Regions from separate parts of the Homo sapiens genome. Here region 1 is linked to region 2. Evidence: promoter capture Hi-C in 16 types of primary human blood cells and fetal thymus (Javierre and others, 2016). All regions are on one chromosome and are shown on one strand. Each heading gives the region's core, a stretch centred on a gene start or on the middle of the fragment in contact. The rest is flanking DNA. Distances are from core to core; before and after follow the strand shown. Region 1 has its middle 23 kb from the start of ARAF. Region 2 holds the start of CDK16 (cyclin dependent kinase 16).

The links. The method cuts DNA at HindIII sites, captures the fragments that hold promoters and counts their contacts. A CHiCAGO score of 5 or more calls a contact.
Region 1: a fragment that was not itself captured here is called in contact with the fragment with the promoter of CDK16 in region 2 in 10 of 17 cell types (total B cells, monocytes, megakaryocytes and 7 more); the score reaches 12.5 in total B cells.

The regions. Positions count from the first base shown.
Region 1 is chrX:47,534,988-47,541,776 of GRCh38, forward strand. No RefSeq gene overlaps it. Among named protein-coding and RNA genes, the nearest start is that of ARAF, 23 kb to the right of the region's middle. RefSeq lists an enhancer at 6,203-6,497. The HindIII fragment of the contact is 159 bases long and covers 4,265-4,423 here.
Region 2 is chrX:47,216,161-47,221,517 of GRCh38, forward strand. It overlaps CDK16 (cyclin dependent kinase 16), which reads left to right and starts at 2,521. Exons shown (of 16, transcript NM_006201.5): 1 at 2,521-2,945. LOC105373194 (a long non-coding RNA gene) reads right to left here and starts at 2,490. Exons shown (of 3, transcript XR_949047.4): 1 at 2,343-2,490; 2 at 846-974. RefSeq lists silencers at 1,855-1,964, 2,665-2,824, 2,845-2,954, 2,965-3,034 and enhancers at 2,155-2,274, 2,395-2,464, 2,608-3,247. The HindIII fragment of the contact is 18,663 bases long and covers 415-5,357 here.

The sequences.
Region 1 (6,789 bases), core at 3,094-5,593, 320 kb after region 2:
TTTAATTTTTATTTTTAATTAATTTATTTTTTTGTTAGACACAGGGTCTCACTCTGTCACCTAGGCTGGAGTGCAGTGGCATGATCACAACTCACTGTAGCCTTGACCTCCTGGACTCAGATGATCCTCCCACCTCATCCTCCCAAATAGCTGGGACTACAGGCGTTCAGCAGCACACCTGGCTATTTTAAAAAAATTTTTGGTAGAGATGGGGTCTTGCTATGTTGTCCAGGTTACCAACTGAGTCTCACTCTGTCGTCCAGCCTGGAGTGCAGTGACATGATCATGGCTCACTGCAGCCTCGACCTCCAGGACTCAGGTGATCCTCCCACCTCAGCCTCCCAAGTTGCTGGTACTACATGCACACACGACCGTGCCTGGCTGATTTTTGTATTTATTGTAGAGACAGGGTTTTGCCATGTTGCCCGGGCTGGGCTGCCAACCGATTCTTTACAAAGGGGCAAAAGCAGTTCAGTGGAACAAACAATGCTGGAGCCATAGGACATCCAATAGCAAAAACAAACAAACAAAAACCAAAAAAGGAACCTGGACCTAAATCACACTTAGTACAAAAATTAACTCCAAATGGATGGATCATTGACTTAAATGTGAAGTGTAAAACTATAATGCTTCTAGGGAAAAACCTAGGACTATATATTTGGGATTAAGACTAGGCAAAAAGAATTCAGAAGATAAAAACCACAATTCATAAACGGGAAATTTGATCATTAGAAACTTTTGCTCTGTGAAAAGACAAGCTATAGGCTGCGAGAAAATATTTGTAAATGACATATTCGACAAAAGGCTAGTATCTACAATATAAAAAGAACTCTCAAAACTCAACAGTAAAGAAGCAAACAATCCCTTTAGAAAATTGGCAAAAGATGCGAAGAGACATTTCACTGAATGGGATGTACAGATGGCAAATATCCACATGAAAAGATGTTCAATATCACTCGCCATTAAGAAAATGCAAATTAGGCCAAGTGTGGTGGCTCACGCCTGTAATCCCATCACTATGGGAGGCTGACGTGGGCAGATCACCTGAGCTCAGGAGTTCGAGACCAGTCTGGCCAACATAGTAAAACCCTGTATTTTTTTTCTACTAAAAATAGAAAAATTAGCCCGGCGTGGTGGTGCGCACCTGTAGTCCCAGCTACTGGGGAAGCTGGGGCAGGAGAATTGCTTGAGCCCAACAGGCAGAGGTTGTAGTGAGCCGAGATTGCACCACTGCACTCCAGCCTGGGCGACAAAGTGAGACTCCATCTCAAAAAAAAAAAAAAAAAAAGAAAGAAAGAAAGAAAGAAAAAGAAAAGAAAATACAAATTAAAACCACAATCAGCTATCAGTCATGAATATCAGAATGGCTAAAATTAAAAAAAAAAAAACAGTGACAATACGAGATGCTGGCCAGGATGCAGAGAAAACGGATCACTCATGCATGGCAGGTGGGAATGTAAAATGATCCAGACAGTCTGGTAGCTTCTTACAAACTAAACATGCAATTACCATATAACCTAGCAATTGCACTCTTGGGCAGTTATCCTAGAGAAATGAAAACCTATATTCACATAAAAACCTGTACATTAATGTTCATAGCAGCTATGTTAGAAATAATGAAAGACTGGAAACAACCCAGACATTCTTCAATAGGTGGATGGTTAAACAAACCATGGTACATCCATACTGTGGAATACTATTCAACAAGAAAAAGGAATAAGATGGGCTGGGCGCAGTGGCTCATGCCTGTTATCTCAGCACCTTGGGAGGCTGAGGTAGGTGGATCACTTGAGCCCAGGAGTTCGAGACCAGCCTGGGCAACATGGCAAAACCCCGTCTCTACAAAAAATACAAAAATTACCCTGGTGTGGTGGTTTGCACCTGTAGTCCCAGCTATCTGGGAGGTTGATTGAGGTGGGAGGATCACTTGAGCCCGGGAGGGGGAGGTTGCAGTGAGCCGTGATCGTGCCACTACACTCCAGCCTGAGTGACAGAGTGAGACCCTGTTTCAAAAAAAGAAGAAAAAAAAAGGTACAAGATGTTGATACATGCAGCAACTTGGATGAATCTCCAGGGAACTATGCTGAGTGAAAAAAGTCAAATCCAACAGTTCACATATTGTATAATTCAAGTTCTATAACAGTCGTGAAATGACAACATTCTAGAGATAGAGAACAGATTAGTGTCAGGGATTAGGAACCTGGAGGGGATACACGGCAGGCACTAGTGTAGCAGGTGTGGTTGCGAAAGGGCAGCAGGAGACATCCCGGGGTTGTGTCAATGGCCACATCCTGGTTGTGATATTGTGCTGTTATTCTGGAAGGTGTCACCATTGGAGGAAACTGGGTGAAGGGCACATAGGATCTCTCTGTATTATTCTTGCAATTGCATGGGAATTGACACTGATCTCAAAATCAAAGTTTAATTTTTAAAAATGTGCAGCTCACCTAGGATGATTGTATAACTGGTTTAGACCATGGCTACATAGAATTAACCAGAGAGTGGTGAGAACAAGGTGGGGCAGGAAGGAATCTTCTGGACACAGAAGAGAACAACAAGCAAGAACGTGGTGGTGGGAGCCACACTGCCTGGGTTAGAATCTTGGCTCTGGCCCACACTCGTGCTGTGTTCCTGGCTAAGTTACTGCCTTCCTCCAAGCCTGTCTCCTTATCTGTGAAATGTAGGTGAGTTCATATGTGGAGTCGCTTAGGGCAGCACTTGATACAGAGCTAGCACTCAAGGGTTTGTTATTCTTTCTATCATTTCACCTAGGAAGGATGTGCTCAACTGGAAATGCTAGGTGGACTTACAGTAACACCGTAAAATCCATCATGTGAATGTTTAGCTCATGAGAATTTCACTCTTCATGCTCTGGGGTAACTAACATATATTCTACATACTCACTTGTATGACTATTCAGATCTGCTGCAGTACTTCATTCTTCTCCATCGCTATCCCAATTTATGTGATGAAAAGAATATAAATTTTTTAAAATAAAAAATAACCTATAACTCATAGAATAAAATAGGGAACCATGAGTCCATACTGATATAAATAAATGAATACATTGAAAATTTGATGAGGAACAGAATGTTTACAAGATCTCAAAGTGCCTTTCCGCAAACTACTGATTTTTTAAAATAATTTAATATATTTTATTTAATCCATTATATCCAAAATGTTATCATTTCACCATGTAATCAATATAAAAAGTTGAGATAAGGCTGGGCGCAGTGGCTCACATGTGTAATCCCAGCACTTTGGGAGGCCGAGGCAGGCGGATCACCTGAGGTCAGGAGTTTGAGACTGGCCTGACCAACATGGTGAAATCCTGTCTCTACTAAAACTACAAAGAAAAACCGGCCAGGTGCTGTGGCTCATGCCTGTAATCCCAGTACTTTGGGAGGCCAAGGCGGGCGGATCATGAGGTTAAGAGATCGAGACCATCCTGGCCAACATGGTGAAACCCCGTCTCTATTAAAAGTATAAACATTAGCTGGGTGTGGTGGCGGGCACCTGTAGTCTCAGCTACTCGGGAGGCTGAGGCAGGAGAATCGCTTGAACCTGGGAGGCGGAGGTTACAGTGAGCCGAGATCACGCCATTGCACTCCAGCCTGGGCATCTTTAAAAAAAAAGTGCAAATATTTATTTTTACTTATTTACTTACAAATTTTTCTTTAGAGATGGGGTGATATAGTTTGAATATATGTCCTTGCCAAAGCTCATGTTGAATTGTAATCCTCAATGTTTGAGGTAGGGCCTGGTGGGAGGTGATTGGGTCATGGGGGCAGATCCTTCATGGCTTGGTGCTGTCCTCGCTATAGTGAGTGGGTTCACTTCACGAGATATTTGGTTGTTTAAAGTGTGTGGCACCTCCCCACCCTTTGCTCTCGCTCTGCCATGTGAGATACCTGTTCCCACTTTGGCTTCCGTCATGAGTAAAAGCTCCTTGAGGCCTCCCCAGGCTCCTTCCTGTACAGTCCTGTATAAAACTGTGAGCCAATTAAGCCTCTTTTCTTTATAAATTACCCGGTCTCAGGTATTTCTTTATAGCAATGCAAGACTGACCTAATTCACGGACAGGGTCTCCCTCTGTTGCCCAGGCTGGCGTAGTGGCTTGATCTCGGCTCATTGCAACCTCTGCCTCCCAGGTTCAAGCAGTCCTCCTACCTCAGCCTCTGGAGTAGCTGAGATTACAGGTGCTAGCCATCATGCCCAGTTAAGTGCAATATTTAAAGGGTTCTGAAAATTTTCTTCCTTTGAAAGCTTTCACTAACTGAGAACTTCAAAGTGCTATTTTCCTGAGAAATTCAAATAACTTTCAATTATTTCTAGGGTCCCCTAGCAGTTACTTGGGGAAATAAAAAAGAAAATTCAATGTCTATCTTACTCCTCATGCCAAAATAAATTTCATCTGGATAGAAGCTTTGAATGTAAAACAAAAAAAATAAATAAATAAAAAATAAAACCAATCAACAAACTTGGGAGTATTACGTTAAAACTAGGGGAAAAAAAATATATATATATATATTTGGAAACGGAGTCTCGCTCTGTCGCCCAGGCTGGAGTGCAGTGGCTCAAGCTCGGCTCACTGCAACTTTGGCCTCTTGAGTTCAAGCAATTCTCCTGCCTAAGCCTCCCAAGTAGCTGGGACTACAGGTGCCCACCACCACGCCTGACTAATTTTTTTTTTTTGTATTTTTAGTAGAGATGTGGTTTCACCATGTCGCCCAGGATGGTCTCATACTCCTGAGCTCAGGCAATCCACCTGCCTTGGCCTCCCAAAGTGCCAGGATTACAGGCATGAGCCACCACGCCCAGCCAGGGAAAATATTTTTATAATTGACAAATTAGAAGTCACGAAAAAAAAGCAATGAATTAGGCCCCCCAAAATTTTAATTCTTTGCATGTGCTTTGGAACATTTTGCTGATCTTATACCAAGATAATTTTTTTAAGGAAAATGAGATCAGTGAGTACTTACTGCTCTGCAAGCTATTTTTATTCACTTGGCAGTAAAATAATGGCATCTTTCCAAGTGAGTGCATTTGTTTTAATGGATGTATTAGTATCTCATTATATAAAAGTCTATATTTAGATATTACCCTCTTCTCTTTTGTTAATATCTTAACTAACTAGGTTATATGAGGAGCAAAGAATGAGCCTACACCCAGCACCTAAACCAATGGTTTCATGACATTCTCTGCTCCAACATGTGGCTAGAGACAAGTGATTCTGAGAAGAAAACTGCCAAATCACAGAACAAGTTTACACTACTCCAGGTGGATAGGAAGTTTAATATTTAAAAAAAAAAACAGGCTGGGTGCGGTGGCTCATGGGTGTATCCCAGCACTTTGGGAGACCAAGGACAGAAGATGACTTGAGCCCAGGAGTCTGGGACCAGCCTGGGCAACATAGGGAGATCCTCGTCTTTACAAAGATAATAAAAAATATTAGCCAGGCATGGTGGTGCACGCCTGTAGTCCCAGCTACTGGTGGGGGAGCTGAGGTGGTGGTGGGGCTGCAGTTGGTGGGGGGGATGATGAGGTGAGAGGATGGCTTGAGCCTGTGAGTTCAAGCCTGCAGTGAGCTATGATAGCGCCACTGCACTCCAGTCTAGGTGACAGAGCGAGATCTTGTCCCAAAATAATAATAATAATAATAATAAAAACAAATAAAAAACAAAAGTTCATTTAGATTTTGAAGATAATAAACGTATGAATATTTAAAATTACACAGTTTTGCTTTCCAGAGTGATGATAAAAGTGTACCATTTGAGTCACTAACTCTTTTTTTTCTTTTTAAGAGAGTCTCGCTCTGTCTAGCAGGATGCAGTGCAGTGGCACGATCTCAGCTCACTAAAACCTCCGCCTCCAGGGTTCAAGCAATTCTCTTACCTCTCAACCTCTCGAGTAGCTGGTATGACTGGTGTGCACCACCACCCACCTCAGCCTCACACAGTGCTGGGATTACAGGCGTGAGCCACTGTGCCCGGCCCATTTTAGTCATTAACTTTTAAAAATAAACTTCACACAGCAGTACATCTCAGATGTTTATAACAAAAAGGAGGGTGGATGTGTGTGTGGGGGGTGAGCTTTCTAATTTGACCACGTCAATATTGTATCTGCCAAGCAGTTTCCAACTTGTATCAAGTCAAATGAGTACTTAGTTGTTTTCTTTAGTTCTTAGAATATTTCCCCTACATTCTCCATGGCTCGGTTCTTTCCAGAAAATTCCCTGGATGGAATTTTCCACATAGCCCAGCAGAGGGCCCTGTATTCTGAGCCACAGTCAGGCATACACAGAAGACACTGCAGACACCAATCAGCAAATCAGGAACGAGAATTCCTCTCCTCCCACACTCCAGCCAAAGGGCTCTCAGGTTCCAGTTGCAGCCGGTCAGCTAACAACTGACGGTGTCTGCACTTCCTTTTAGTCTAGGCGGCGGTAGAAATGGTTTCTAAGAATACCCAGTGGCTCTGGAAAACATTTCCATCATGTGAATGAGCCTGCGCGTATTTTATATTACAGCTTTTATTCCCCTCAGATTCCTATTCTCATTTTAAAATGTATTTAAAAGATATAGAGACATATAAAGCCTTCAGAGGAAAATGCATTAAAAAGGAATATATCACAATGGTAAACCATGATTACTACTAAAGAGATTATGGCTTATTTCACTCCATTCTTTAATTTCCCAGATTTTACACCATTATCGTGTTTCTTTTATTTTGAATATTCTCTTTTCAGAAAGAGAAAATATAGTTTGAAAAAGCGGCTGGGTGTGGTGG
Region 2 (5,357 bases), core at 1,271-3,770:
CTTGTCCACCTCCTTCTGATCATTTTATTTTCTTGGCCTGCTCTGCTTGGGTGACCTTATCCTTCCACAGTTTCTTCTTCCCCACTAGGACGTTGAGGACAGAGGCATTTTCCCTTTGGTATCTAGTGGTGATACTGTCAAAGGGAAAGTTTTTCCCACCACAGGAACTTTCCCATTATTGCTCTAGAGTACCCTAGACACTCCACACCGCAGTCCACTGGCCACACCACTACAGCAGCTGAGGCTTGAACACAACTGTTGTCTTCTTTCTCCAGTATGCCAGCTCCTTTGCGGATACTCTATAGACACCTTGTTCACTGCACCTCCCCCATTACGGCTCCATGTCTTCCCCACCACAACTCCTGGATCTCCTTGACACCTTATTCGTGCCTGACACCCTTCTCCATCAAAACAAGCTTTTGAGTCATGCATGAATCCTGGTTGCATCTTAGTTGTTCCCCCTCCACCTCATTCCATTTTACTTCTGCGGTTTGTCTACCAGTCTACCATTGTTAACACCAGCCAGATGGGAGATCAGGGCTTAGCAGGCGGGGGTTGCGTCATTGCACCGAGCCCCCTGCACCCAGCAGCCACAAAGGATAGGGTGGGACAAAGGTTTCTCTTGTCACTGCCTGGAACTATTTGCCCACCTCCTTCTGATCATTTTATTTTCTTGGCCTGCTCTGGCAGGCATTCAACAAACATTTGTTGTGTGCTGTGTGCCAGTCACTTTCTAGGCACGTGAGACAGCAGTGGATAAAACAAAGATCCCTGTCCTCTTGGGGTTTTACGTTCTGCTAGGTTGACACCCAGAATAGATTATAAACACAGTAAGCAAATTGTACCTTAGAAGTTGATCAGTGCTCTTCAAAAGGCGAGGAATAGAGCCCGATCTGGGGATCTGGAATGATGGCAGTGCAGGTAGGAATTTTTAAATCGGAAAGGCTTCATGGAGATGACTTTGAAGCAAGCACCTGGAAGAAGTGAGAGAATGAGGCACGTGGATGTGGGCCAGCAGCATTCCAGGCAAAGGGAACCACAGCAAATGCAAAACCCCTGAGGCTGGATTGTGCCCGTTTCACTCAAACAGCTAGAAAGAGCGCTAGTATGGTGGCAGTGAGTCAGGGGAAGAAGAGGAAGAGATGAGGTCAGAGAAGTGATGAGCCTGTTCTATGCCAAGGCGAGGACTTTTATCTTTGTCAAATATTTCCACTCCCATCATGGCCCGGGAAATCTCACTAATGTAAACCTTACTGAAAATCCTAACTGCTGTGATCAAGGCTGCCATAAAGGGAAGCCCGGAAGAGGCGGGGAGGCTGCCTTGGAACAGGGTAGTGTAAGGATGTGCCAGAAGGCCTGCTGGAGGTTGCAGCCCTTTGAGCTGGACTTGGGGATAGTGTGGTTTTCCAGGCAGAAGGAAGTGAAGGATTAGGTCGGCCTGGTAGTACTTGGCACACAACATGCGCCCAATAAATAAAATGGAAATAAAACCGCGGAGTGTTCTACTTGTGTTGACTGACATCAAAACAAAACAAAAAACCCTCAGAGTGAGGGGAGGCACGGGAGGGGCTGTGCCGGGCAAGAGAGGTGGCAGGAAAATCCAACGCACGGCGCCTATGCAAATACTCGTGTGAGGCAGAAAAGAGGCTCCGCCCCGCTCGAAGTTCCAAGCATGCGCAGTAGCGGCTCCTGCGCCTCTAAGGATCCGCCTCTTTCCTTCTTTCTCAGCCTGGGTTCCACCCCGGGAGGCCCGCTGTATGAGATGGAGGGCGGGCTAAAGGCGGGACGAGACTCGATTGAGCGCAATTATGACCAATCACCTTGCGGAATATTCGGCCTATAGCGAAGGAGGAGCTCAGAACAAAAAGGAGACCCCACCCCCGCCGACGGTGAAAACCTATGAAACCTGGGCGGAGGCGTGCGGAGTCGGGTAGAGAGCGAAATCACGCCTCTTCAGTCAGCCACGCCCTTTATTCTTGCTCGGCCTCGCCACAGAGAGCAAATCAGATTGGCTGGGCGACAACCTCAAAGGGCGGGGCTGCACACGTTCACTACGGGAATGAGGTAGCGGTGGAGGGGGCAGTTGGGCGGGGATAGGCCGTCCTAGCTAAGGTGGTAAAGGCCAATAACTCTTCAGGCTGCCTCTCCTCGAAAAGTCATCTTCTCGCGAACCTTTAAAATGCCTTCCTCCCCAAGCACCTCAAGGGACTAGAACTGAGTGCTTCATTTGTCTTTTTTCCTCCTTGCAAAAGTCCCGTTTGCCACCATGGGGATGTACCAAGTGAGACCGAGTAGGGGGAACGAGTGGTGATTGACGCGCCAGGTTACTGGCCACTGCTCACCTAGGCGCTAGCAAACTTCTGCCAAGATCGGAACTGAGTACTAAACAGCCTCCACAGTTCTCCCTGGTGCCGTCTCCGGCTTGGCGCCGCATCCTCCTCTGGGCTCGCGATGGCCGCGTCCCCTCCCGCTGCGGACGGGTCCTTTGGTACATGCAGTCCGAGGTGAGTCCCCTCCTTTCCACTTCACCCTTCCGAGCGCCTGCGTGCGCATGCGCGGAGCGCGGCGCGCGCGGCGGTTGGGCCGTTGGCTGTTCGGCCCTGGGATCCGCCGCCACTCCGCGATCAGACCGCTCTGTGCCGCGAGCCGCCGTGAGCACTCGGATTCAAGCCGGCGCCAACGAGTCCGGGGGCATCGCCCGCAGCGGCCAAGCTCATGGCCGGCTGAGCGGGACGCCGCCTCCGCCTCAGCCACCGCCGCCGCCGCCGCCTCCTCCTCCTCAGCCGGCGGCGGCCCGGGCCCAGCAACCATGGCTGAAGACTACTGGGACGGGCGCCTGCGGCGAACAGGAGGAGAAGGAGGTCGCGCGGCCTCATCCCGGGCCGCCGCCCCAGGCGCCGCCGCGCCGGCCCCGCGGCTCTGAGGTTGCTCGCGCGCCCCCGCCGGTGAGCGCGTCCCCGAGGCGTGGAGGCTGCCCCTCCTCCTTCAGAACCCACCTCGGGCGGTGCCCAGGGGTCTGGGCTGCGGGGCTGGCAGGTGCCCCCACCCCCGGCGAATTTCCCAGAATGCACCGGGGCGGGGGGTCATTTGGGGCCTCCCTGACCTTGGCCCCGCCCTGGGCCTGTCCTGGGAGCTGGGGTTGGGTAGTGCTGTGGGTGCTAATGGGGACCTGGGGGAGTCAAAGGACCAAAGGGTGTGGAAATGGGTGACAATGGGGTGAAAGACTTGGGGGGGTTGCTGATGGGGGTCGGAGCATGTGGCAGTAAGCCTCACGCCAATAAGTCGTGTAAGGTTCAAGGCCCCGTGTGTGCTTGTGGAAGGAGGGCGGGGTGCGGAGCGGGTGAGGGACCCGAGGGTGTATAACGGGGGGTAGGGTGTCGAGGAAGTTCTAAGACATGCTCATAGGGATTATGTCCGCAGAGAGGCCCGGTGTGTGTTCATGGGGGACAGGGTGGCACAGGTACCAGAACGTGTGTTGGTGGGGTCAGGGCTCTGAGGCCTGGTGCGTGGCGATGAGGCCCTGGATGGTGTTAATACTGCGTGTCTGTCCGTGGGGCCTGCAGTGTGTGAGAATGCAGTGTGTGCTTGTGGAGGGCAGGTAGCTGAAGGACTCGAGTGTGGTGTGTGCGCCAGTGGGGGTCATGGCTGTAGAGGGTGTATGCCTGTGGCCTCGAAGGTCTAGGTAGTTTGGGACCCAGTATATGCTAATGAGGGCAGAGTGGAGGAAGGACCTGAGGGTATCTAACGGAGGAAGGACTGTGGAATACCTGAGCCTGGCCTAAAGGAGATGAGAATTGCGTGTCTGTCTGGGCCCAGGAAGGAGTGGTGGGGAAGTGTCTTAGCACTGTCAGAGGCTTAGTGGACGAAGGGTAAAGGTGATGTGAGGTGTGAGTGTGTCCATGGACACAGGGAATGTGAGTCTCGAGGGCACACTAGGAAGGAGCAGGGTAATAGAAGTACTGGTGGTTGCTAATGTGGGTTTAGAGACATAGAGGCACTTCAATGTGTGCCATTTCGAGAGTCAGCTGTGTGAAGTCTGGAATATGCTAATAAGCATCAGAACCTTGTGAAGATTGTGCCCTTGTGTCCGCGGAGGACCAGAGTATGTTGAGGTTCCAGGGGGTGCTACTCGGGGGTAGGGCTGCGGAGGGGATCTAGTGTGTAATAAGGGGGATCAGGGCTTTCATGAAGGGATCTAAGTGTGAACCAACAAGGATTATATCTGTGGAGATATCTCTGAGCAGAGAGCAATAGAGGACAGGAATGTGTGATGATCTCGGTGTGCTAAAGTGGATTACAGCTAGGGAGGGCTGAAGTGTGTGCTAATGGGAGTCAGGGCTGAATGAGACCTGTGTGCACTAATGAGGGTCAGGCCATGGTAGAACAGTGTGTTTGTGTGTCCCTGCGGAATAGGGCTGAGTAAGGGTTCAGGGTGCACTAATGGGGAGGCAGGACTGTGTGAGGCCCGGCGTGTGCTAATAGAAATCAGGCCTGAGTGAAGACTCAGTTTGTGCTGACAGAGGGGACAGGACAGTGGAAGGACTGGAATGTGTGTTAAGGATGGTCGTAGCTGTGAAGGGGCCTGAGTGTGGGTAACACTGGTTAGAGATCTATCTGTAAGGTTCACTTTATGTTAATAGCATTCAGAGCAGCATGAAGAAGGTCCAGTGAGTGCTAATGTGGGTCAGCTATAGAGTACCCCAAGTGCATGTTAATAGAGGTCAGAATCATGTAGGGGGAACAGTACGTTAATGAGGGGAGTCAGTACTATGGAGAAGGTAACAAGCAGCTAGGCCAGGGAGGGGCCCAAGAATGTGGTGGCAAGAGTTACTTAGAGGAGGCTAAGTGTGTGCTGACAGAGTTCAGGGCGGTATGTTATGTGTTAGGGCTTTGAATGCTGATGGGTATATGAGATAATAGCAGGTAAGATGTAGTGAGGCCTCCTTGAGGGTCTAGCGTGTATTAATGGGGATCAGGACATAGGGTGCGATGACCAAGTCCTTAGTGGTTGGTGTGTTGAGTATCCTTGAGTATGAGAGTAGTCTGAGGATGGGTGTATGTCTTTGGGGATCAGGAAGGGTCAGGCAGGACATGTGCCTTTTTTGGGGTAAGGTTTTATGTCCAGTTTCTTGCTCCCTCCTTTTTTGAAATCTAAAAAGCTCATTCAACTGAAATGATATTTAAAAGTTTCCTTGCGTATAAATGTTCAATTATCTCTGTTCACAGGGGCATGTCTGAGACCCCCATCCCCCTTTCTGGGAGTGTTATGTGATATACAGATTTTACACCCCATCTTCCTAAAATCCCAAAAAACTGAACTCCAGAGCATGTCCAGCCCTTGGGGTTTCCAGTTAGAG